Regions from separate parts of the Homo sapiens genome. Here region 2 is linked to region 1. Evidence: promoter capture Hi-C in 16 types of primary human blood cells and fetal thymus (Javierre and others, 2016). All regions are on one chromosome and are shown on one strand. Each heading gives the region's core, a stretch centred on a gene start or on the middle of the fragment in contact. The rest is flanking DNA. Distances are from core to core; before and after follow the strand shown.

Region 1 (4,853 bases), core at 800-3,299:
ACCCAAATCTCATCTTGAATTCCCACGTGTTGTGGGAGGGACACGGTGGGAGGTAATTGAATCACGGGGGCAATGTAGTACAAGGGGAGAGTGACATTGGAGGGCTTCCCATCCACCTAAGCCCAGCCCAAACCACAGTCAGGGCAAACCACTTGCCCCACCCACTGCAGGATAAACCAAAGGCACAAGGTCACCCGGGTCCCCAAGTCAAAGCACATGTTTTCTGTCAGCTGCAGGCTCCTGAGCAAAAAGCATGTGCATTTGTGCTAGGCTGCATCTGCAGATACCACGGTCCTTGGACAATACAAAAATCAGGTGAGAACGCTGCCATTTGCCCACTGAGCACAGACTACGGGGAACTTGGCCACCGTGGTCACTCTGCAGTTTTCCCTTGAAGTGCTTTGCTTGGTGGAAGGTGTTCCACCAGCCAGTCCTTCTCAGGTCTTCTTAAGCCAACTTTTTTTCTTTTCCTTTCTTTTCTTTTCTTTTCTAAACATCTCGTTTTCTCTGAATCTGGTCATAACGAAAGGATAGCCTGTGCCTGCCTCCACGCCTCCTGCCCTACCCGGGTGGATGCCCGCGGCTCTGGGGCTCTCCCTATGCCCTGACTCTGGGGAGCCCCGGCTGGCATTGGCTCGCGAAGGTGACCTGCGGACAGACCAGTCAGAGATCACGTTGGCTGGTCGCGGCGCGGGCCACAAAGCTCAGCGGAGGTGGGGTAGGGGACCAAGCTGTCCCGGCGAGGGAAGAAACTGTTGCTTCCAAATCATTGCGGCTGGAGGAGCCGATCTGCGCCCCAGCGTGTTAGGACAAGGGCGGCGCGAGGGGCCCAGGGGCCAAATGGGGCGCTGGGCAGGAGGGGCTGTCTCCTGCAGGGGAGGAGGAATGGTCCCCTGCCAGGGACCTGGGGAAAGGTAATAGTCAGGAGGGGACCGGGCCGCAAGAAGCCCATCCTGGATTGCAGCACGGGCAGCCAGCGCGAATTCAGTCAGGAGGTCCACGGGGACCGGTAAACGAGAAGGGGATGCGGTGAGGACGCCGGACTGGCGTTTCTGCCGCGCTGACACCTCGACTGCTCCCTCCCCGCACCGCGTCCCCCAGCCTGAGACGGGGAAGCCACCCAGGGCACCGCGCTCCCAAACAGCGGGGAAAAGGCGCTCTGGGCGGCGGCTGAGTGACCGAGGGACCGGTCCGGAGCCAGGAGCTGGGAGGCGCGGGGATGTGGTGGGGAGGAGGGGAGTGGGGGCAGTGAGGGGGCTCAAATCCTGCGGGGACGCCCGCTTACCCTGCCGTTGCGGTCAGTCTCCTGCGCCTCCTCGACGCTCACCCCGCGCCGCACCAGCGTCCGCAGCAGCCCCACGTTGTTGGCGCAGGCGGCGCGCAGGAGGGTCGCCGTCTCCGGGACGCTTTCCGGGACGCCCTCCGGGACGCTCTCCGCGCTCTCGACGCCGTGCTCCTCCTCGTCCTCGAAAGGGTAGAAAGAGTCGTCCGAGGCGATGCTGCGGGTGTCTGGCAGACTCGAGAAGTCCTCAAACTCTTCGTAGTCAGCGGGGTCCTCCTCGACCTGCGCGCCCCGGGGTGGGGACGGCGGTGGTGGGGTCATGCAGCGCGCCCCGCCGCCCTCCGGCCCGGTCCCGGCCAGCAGCACCATGCCGGCGGCCGGGGCGCGGGCCGGGGGCCGGGGCGCGGGCAGGAAGAGCGGGACGCGGGGCGCGCGCCGAGGTCCCCGCTTCTCGCTTCTGCGTCCCCAGAGAAGCCGTGGCCCGCGCGCTCCAGCTCGGCGGAAACCGGCACCAGGCGGCTGCGCTCAAAGAAAAAAGTCTCCGGAGGCTGAGCGAGCCCCTGGGGTGGGCGGGACCGCGGGGGCTTTCCGAGGCGGGGCGGGGCGGGGCGCGGGGACACGCCTTCCCCCGGGGCCTTCCCCTCGCGCCCCTTCCTGGCCAGAGTTCAGAGCCAGGCAGGCGCTCTCTCGAGCGCGGGGACTGGGCACCTGGCAGCGTTGCCCCAGAGCTGGGGACAGCTGGCGCGGGAGAAGCAGAAGCAATCACTAAAGAAGCCGAACCCGAGTCGCGGGCGGCAAGCGGCCCCGCCCCTCCCTCCGCCGGCCCGCGGGATGGGGGCGGAGGTGGCGGCGGGGGGACGCCGGGGCGGAGCCGGCCTCCAGCTTCGGGAACCTCGGACCCCTGGAGCCGGCCTCCGCCGAGGGCGTCGGGCCCCCGGACCTGGGTGGGGCCGGTTTCTCCCGCCGCTTCAGAGGAGCAGAGCGGGTTTTCTCCCTTCGGGGGATCCCGGGCTTCGGGGCTGACTCCACCCGGCCGCGGCCGCTTGGAGGCCGGGGAATCCCCGGGGCGCTTGGCGGGCAGAGGAGCCGGGCGCGGGAGCGGAGCCGTCCACCTGGGACCTGTGCCCGGGGAGCGCTGCGGGCCGGGCCACTCTGAACTGGGGGCGGTCGGCTGCTGTGGGGGAGTCCCAGCCCGGAAGGGAGGACAATCCTCAGAGTCCCCCGTCTCGCGGAACCGGGGCCGGCCGTGGCTTGAGGGTTGGTCAGATCCTGGGATGGGGGGCGGGGTGTTCCGGAACCTCAGGGAGCATCTGAGTGGGAACGGACGACGAGGAACTCCCCGTCCCCATGCCTGGCCTGTGTCACGTGCGGGGATCTGCGGACTCACCCCCGGAGGCTGCGACTGGGCGCTGACCCCACGTCTGGCTGCCCAAAAGAGCAGGGCCGCGGGCGACAGCCGCAGTCCAGGCCCACAGCCCCTCTGGCCCGGCCTTGCCCTCTCCCCGTCAGTCCTGGCGCCGGGGATGGGCGGGGAGGAGGAGGGCGTGTGAGGATTTGCCACAGGGAGCCCTTGACTTCGGGGTAGGAGGCGTCGTGAGCCAATCTTGGGGGAAGGTCTCTGCGCAAAGGCGCGGAGGTGCGCTCGCGCCCGTCGCAGGTCAAAGACTGCGGAGGCCACCAGCCCTGTGTCCCCCTAGCCTCCTTCCTTCCTTTTTTTCCCCCGATCTTGACAGCGTGTCCACCAGCTGCCAGCCGGTGGGAGGCCCTCGCGGCCCCAAGGTGAACACAGCTAGGCTGGCGCAGCCGCTGGGGACCAGGCTTGAGGCCCACGTGCCGCTGGGCAAGCTGAGGGGCACGAGGGCACCGAATCCGAAACAGCCGTGGGAGGTGTAGGATGAGGACACGTTTAAACTGCGAAGCCGCTCGAGCCCTCGTGTCACACCGCACTGGCCCGACCCGCTGTCCTGGTCGCCTGGTCTTCCAGTGTCTCCAGCAGGAGCCAAAGGGCCTGCTGGCGGCCCCCGACCCGGCATCTGCAGGGCCCCGGAGGGTGGGGCGCGCGGGAGCACCGATTTCTGGTGAAGACGCCCTCGCACCTGGGCGGCTCTGAGCGAGCAGCGAACTGAGACTCGCTGGCCTCCTTCTCTACTCCGGGGATTCTTTCTGCAACCAAAAATAGCCCCCAGATTACAGTAAACTCTACCTTTTTGTGTAACTGACCACAGTTTGCATCAATTCCCACTGGGAATTTCCCCTTTCAAGGTTGAGGGTTGTTTCCAAAGGCCTGGGGTAGTTACAATTTCAAGTGCCCCCTGAGGGCTGAGTTGGGTTTGCTGGACCCACTGTCCTCCCAGGGAGAGCACTGCGTCACTTTACAGCAAGAGTCCCGGCTGCGGGTCACCAAGGCCCAGGTGGACAGGGCCAGGCCCTGAGAGGGGAGCACCACGCAGCCTTTTCTGGCCTCCCGTAGGCGATTGGTGCTCATTGACCGCGTCACTCAGCAAGGGAATTGAGGTTCTATCTTCAGAGTTTACCACTTCCTTTTCTTCCTTAGAAATTTGAGTCCAAATAGCATTTGAATGTGTTTCCCCTTAAATATAAACTAAAATGTCATCGTCTGCTTCAAAGAAGAACTATCGTTTATAAGTAAGTGGTCCGATTCAGGATGCAAGCTGATCATTTTCCTGTCTTTTAAAAATAAACCGCTAAGAAGAAACAATAAATAAAAAATAAAATATGCTTCTTTTACAACAAAGACAGTAGAGTCTGGACATTTCTGGAAGATGGGCTAAAAGAAACACAAAATCGACCGGGCGCGGTGGCTCACGCCTGTAATCCCAGCATTTTGGGAGTCCGAGGCGGGCGGATCACGAGGTCAGGAGATCGAGACCATCCTGGCTAACATGGTGAAACCCTGTCTCTACCAAAAATACAAAAACAAAATTAGCTGGGCGCAGTGGCGGGCGCCTGTAGCCCCAGCTACTGGGGAGGCTGAGGCTGGAGAATGGCGTGAACCCGGGAGGCGGAGCTTGCAGTGAGCAGAGATTGTGCCACTGCACTCCAGCCTGGGCGACAGAGCGAGACCCCGTCTCAAAAACAAAACAAAACAAAACACCAAAAAAAAAAAAAAAGACACAAAATCAGGCATAGGCATTTTTAGTAAAGCCAACATTTATTATATGTACAAAATCTGCATAGGTAGGAGAAAGTAGCTTATCAAAACTGCCGACTCAGGATAACTTAAATTAATATTCTGAGGCCAGGTGTGGTGGCTCACACCTGTAATTTCAAAACTTTGGGAGGTTGAGTCTAGCGGATCCCTTGAGCCCCAGGAGTTCAAGCCCAACCTGGGCAACGTGGTGAAACCCCATCTCTGCAAAACATACAAAATATAGCCTAGTGTGGTGGCGTGTGCCTGCAGTCCCAGCTACTTGAGGGGGAAGTCGAGGCTGCAGTGAGCCCTGATGGTGCCACTGCATTCCAGCCTGGGCAACAGAGTGAGACCCTGTCTCAAAACAAAAAGAGAAGTACTGAGAAATTATATTTTATCCGACTGTCAAGTTTCAATGAA
Region 2 (4,853 bases), core at 1,656-4,155, 72 kb after region 1:
TACTCACCCTGATAGAGTCAATGTGAGAAATAATATAAGTTCCTGGCACATAATAACTGCTCAATAAATGACAGCATTTTTTTTTTCTAGGCAGAATGAATCTTTGGTGATGAAAGTGAGAATCTGGGAGGTAATGATGGCGGCAGGCTGTGGTGGGAGCCTCTGGGGCGCTGCTGAGAGATGGCGCTGGGTGGTGTCATGGGTGTGGACTCACTTTCTAATAATTCTTCCAGCTGGGCACCTGATTCGTGGGCTTTTCTGTGGGCATGTCATACTTCAACACAAAAACAGCTTACCAAAAATGCAAATAAAAGTATCCATTTTGCAGATTATGAGGATTAAAGAGATAAGAAACCTAAAGCATTTAGCATTGTGCCTCCCACAGTTTAAGAGCTCGGTGCCTGTCTGCTGTTGTAGCTGCACAATCATTTATCCAGAAAGCTGTGGGTTTTTGGCATTCGAGTTTGGGGAGCTGTAGGCTGGTAATACAGGACATATCCTGAATATCACTTACTACCCACTGCTGGGTCTGGCCTGCAGATCCTGGCCGAACAACAGATGAACACATGCACTCAGACACAGGTATCCAGTGAAAGAGTGGGCTAGGGGACCAGGCCGCTCACAGACACTGAGGAGGGTGCTGTAAAGAGTCAGCAGCCACGGCCCTGACAAGCTGGCACTGCGGGCATTTATTTAGTACAGATTTAATGACAAAGGCCTTGAGTCAACACACTTGTGGGTAATTTACATGGTCACTCCCCCAGAGAGAGCAGTCCTGCACACAGGCGATTAAAGGCCAGGTTCCGAGGCCTAAGTAAACTAACTTATCTAGATCAGTTTCTTTACATCCCCTTGTTATCTAACCTAAGCTTTCAGGTACCAGATAAGAGAATCTGGCTGCCTTCAGCCCAAATCCTTTTCCAAAGCTTTTGTAAAACCTCCTGGCCTTCCAGGAAGGTTTGCATTCTTTCTACAATTTTTCCCACCACCCTGACCAATCTCCTACAACCCCCCACATGTCTGGACAGTGCCCCCCAGAAAACACAGTATCACTATTCTCACCAATGGATAAAGAAAGTCTATAAATAGTCCCAAGTCCATTCAAATCAATTTTATCCCCAAATGGGTTTTGTCTTCAAATTTACACATAAAAAATGTTCCCAGAGTGTTTTGGATTTCAGAATTGTGGGTAAGGGATTGGGCACCCATATTTTCAACACCATGATGTGCATGACGTCATGTGTTTTCTGCAACTGGAAATTGGATCATTTGTTAGTGGTTCGTTATTGTGTGACATTTCCCATTCTACAGAGATGTGAAAACTGGAAGAGAAACAGGAAGTACCTCCAGGATTCACCTAAATAGATGCTGCGGTTTCTATCAAACCACAGGCCACCCCAGCATCTCAGTGGCTTCTATAGGTTGTCCTGAAAGAGCCATGAGGCCAGGGCCCTTGATGGATTCCCAGATACCAGCTGCTCCTCCAGACACCAATTCCACCCTCCACCTTTCTGTGTCCGTCCCAGACCAAGGCAGCCCAGGTAAGGAGCCATGAGTAGGAGGTTTCCCAGTGGGTAGAGGTGCCAGACTCAGCAGCTAGAAATATAGAATGCTGGGTTAAATGTAAATTTCAGATCAATGATAATTTTTTGGGTAAGTGTATCCCATGCAGCATTTGAAATACAATTTAATCAAATTTAACTAGATGTCCTGCATGTTGTAGGAAACTCTCTAGGAGGTGTGTCTCCAGGATAGAGGGCCAGTGGAGAATGGCAGCCCACACTGTTATGGGATGAAGTGTGTCCCCCAAAATCAACATGTTGAAGCTCTAACCCCCAGAACCCCGGAATAAAACTATATTTGGAGTTAAGATCTTTAAAGAGGTAATTATGTCCTAATGAGTTATTTAGGGCAGACCCTAATCCAATAGGACTGGTATCCTTCTAAGAAGAGGAAGGCACATCAGAGGAGAGGCCATGTGAGGACACCATGGGAAGGCGGCCACCTGCAAGCCAAGGAGAGGGGCCTCAGGAGAAACCAGCCCTGCTGACACCCTGAGCTCCTTGCAATTCCAGCCTCCTAGACTGTGAGAAAATACACTTGTGTTATTTAAGCCCCCCAGTCTGTGGTTCTTTGCTGTGGCAGCCCTAAGAATCTAATACACATGCCAACCTGTCTAGGCACAGATGGCCCATCTTCAGGGAAAGGATGCAGGGGGATCTGCAGGCCTGCCGGGGCTGAACCAGGAAGTTGTGCCCTCAGCAGTGGAGGCAGCCTCTCCCAACCCCAAGCCTCCAGCCCCTCCCCTCGTGACATGCATGTTCTGAGTTCAGTCTGTTTCCAAGCTCCTTCCCGTGCCTGTGGAGTCAATGTCACCCCCAGTCTCAGGGTATCCTTGCACTGATACGCTCCACTACACCCTCACACCCACCCCGTGGCTTCCTGAACTGCACCCCCAAGTGAACCACTCTGCATCTGGCTTCTCCATCAACCACGTGCCCTGGAGTCCCTCTGAGCTGTCCATGTGGGCAGCCTCCTTTTGAAGCCTGGAGTGGGTGAGTGTTGAGCAAAAGGTGATGGCAGGGGCTAGAGCTCATTTCATTCCTGAGTAAGGGAAGCTCTAAGATTCCTTCTGTACCATAAGTGAGTGCTGCCCTGCCTGGGAGGGTGCACACCCTGCCCTGAGACTACTGCCTCAGAGCATGGGCAGCTGGTCAACCTAGGCATTGCCCATGCCTCCCACATGGGTGGGGGGCAGCCCCACCGCCCCTCTGTTCATCTTCCATTGACCTGTGGAGTCTCAGAGATCTGTCTTGATTTTTTTTAGACAGTCTTGCTCTGTCACCCTGGAGTACAGCGGTGCAATCTCTGCTCATTGCAACCTCTTCCTCCCAGGTTCAAGTGATTATCGTGCGCCAGCCTTCCAATTAGCTGGGATCACAAGCATGCACCACCATGCCCTGCTAATTTTTGTATTTTTAGTAGAGACAGGGTTTCGCCATGTTGGCCAGGGTGGTCTCAAACTCCTAACCTCAAGTGATCCACCTGCCTCGGCCTCCCAAAGTGCTGGGATTGCAGGTGTGAGCCACCACACCCAACCTGTCTTGATTTAATAGTCATTCAAGGTGCTCATTTCTTGACTGAATGACTACAAGAGCAGATATAAATGAACACATGCAATCAGTCTTGCCCTGGGTCTGAAGTAGGATTCTCAGCACCAGCGACATTTGCACTGGATCATTCTCTGCGGTGGCACTAGCCTCTGCCCTGCAGGACGTTTAGCAGTACCCCTGGACCCCACCCACTAGACGCCAGCAACAGTTCCCTGCCCCAGTTGTGACAACCAAAAATGTCCTCGGACATTACTCCAAGCACCAAGGTTGGGAACCGCTGTTCTCAAGGTTTCCAAATGCATCTCACGCCATAGGTCTATGCACAGAATAAATGAATCATTCACTGTTGACCAATGAAGGCTTTGTTTGGAGACAGGTGTTATAACAGCAGGAAGAAAACTCCCCAAAGGAAAAGTGTGCTATCAGCTGAAGCATCTCCCAAGTCCAGCTCTGCACCCCCACGTGCATCCCCACACGAACGTGTTGCCAGGAATCAACCGAACCCCTGTTTCTCTCGCAGAAAATTGGTGGGAGCAATCCTCGCTTGCGTGTCAGGATGCCTGTCCAGGTGAAGCCAGCATGAGTCTCTCCAGATTCTAAGGCAGTGATGGGAAAGTGAAGGAAGCAGAAATGGCCAAGGGCCATCCTCTGTCAGTAATTCACTCTGTCAGCCCTCCCTAAGCCGGGTGGTGGGTGTTATGCATCAGGACGCCGGGCTCTGGTGGGGTAATGAGAGGGACTCATAAGTGGCCAAGCTGTGACTCAAACCTGGCAGGACTCCCACTGGCTTCACTCTGCCCTCTTAAATTCTACAATTAGAGCTCCCCAGGAGAGAGCAACCCATTGACTTAAATGTTCACTCACCTGTAAACAGGTGACATGAGATTTTCTCCCATTCGTGGGTTTCCTGATGTCAGGATGGAGCACAGAGCAGGGGCCGTCGGGCACCTATAGGCTGAAGGGAACCCTGGGTAGAGGATAGTGTACGTTTGTTTCATGATGTTGCCAGGAGCTGGCCCTTTGCTGTAAACCAGGTCCTGTTTTGAGCGTGCTGGGAAGTTCAGAAGCAGAGTTCCATAGACACTTCTGAGATGCACAGGCACCTCTCCTGCCTAATGTGGCCAGGAAAAATTGCCCTGATAAAGCCAATGACATCATAGATTAGAACCTGAGGAACCCGCAGCCTAGTAGTTCCCGATCTTGCTGCCTATTAACATCACGGGGACGCCTTTCAGAGCTCCCCAGGTGATGTTAATGGCAGCAAAATCAAGAACCACTGTGAATAGGCAGCAATCGATGTCCAGGCCACTCCCCACCAACTAAATCAGGGTCTCCAGGATGGGCTCATGCCTCCACGGTTCCTGGTTCCCCAGGTGCAACTGCGACCTCCCTCAGTGATCCAGTGTGGGCTTCTCACACTTTAATGCACATCTGAACGAATCGGGGCTCTTGTGAAAATTTGAATTCTGGCTCAAGAGGCTGGGATGAGCCTGAGATTCTGCTAGGAGCTAGGAAAAGTGTGATCCAGAGCTAGGAAAAGTGTGATCTTGGATGCTTGTCATCTGGGAGCTTGTTAGAGGTGCAGGATCTCAGGCCCCACCCAGAACCTAAGGATCAGAATCTACATTTGAATAAGGTGCAGGTTTGTTGAATATACGTCCCTAGTTTGAGACAACCTGCTACAACCTGAAGCCTCTATTTGCTCATGAGCAAGTGAGGGCCAGAGAGATGGAGCCCTGG

Evidence for each region. Contacts are between HindIII fragments. The CHiCAGO score rates a contact against its expected background, and 5 or more counts as called.
Region 2: a fragment that was not itself captured here is called in contact with the fragment with the promoter of ANKRD33B in region 1 in 6 of 17 cell types (neutrophils, total B cells, naive B cells and 3 more); the score reaches 11.5 in neutrophils.

The regions. Positions count from the first base shown.
Region 1 is chr5:10,561,266-10,566,118 of GRCh38, reverse strand. ANKRD33B (ankyrin repeat domain 33B) reads right to left here and starts at 2,049. Exons shown (of 4, transcript NM_001164440.2): 1 at 1,286-2,049. The coding sequence starts at 1,651. RefSeq lists enhancers at 1-94, 386-475, 866-1,075, 198-1,091, 1,092-1,986 and 1 more and silencers at 196-245, 1,216-1,265, 1,606-2,465. The HindIII fragment of the contact is 7,834 bases long and covers 1-4,853 here.
Region 2 is chr5:10,490,551-10,495,403 of GRCh38, reverse strand. It overlaps LINC02212 (long intergenic non-protein coding RNA 2212), which reads left to right. Exons shown (of 3, transcript NR_104606.1): 2 at 91-130; 3 at 1,312-1,877. Among named protein-coding and RNA genes, the nearest start is that of LINC02212, 9.8 kb to the left of the region's middle. The HindIII fragment of the contact is 3,953 bases long and covers 929-4,853 here.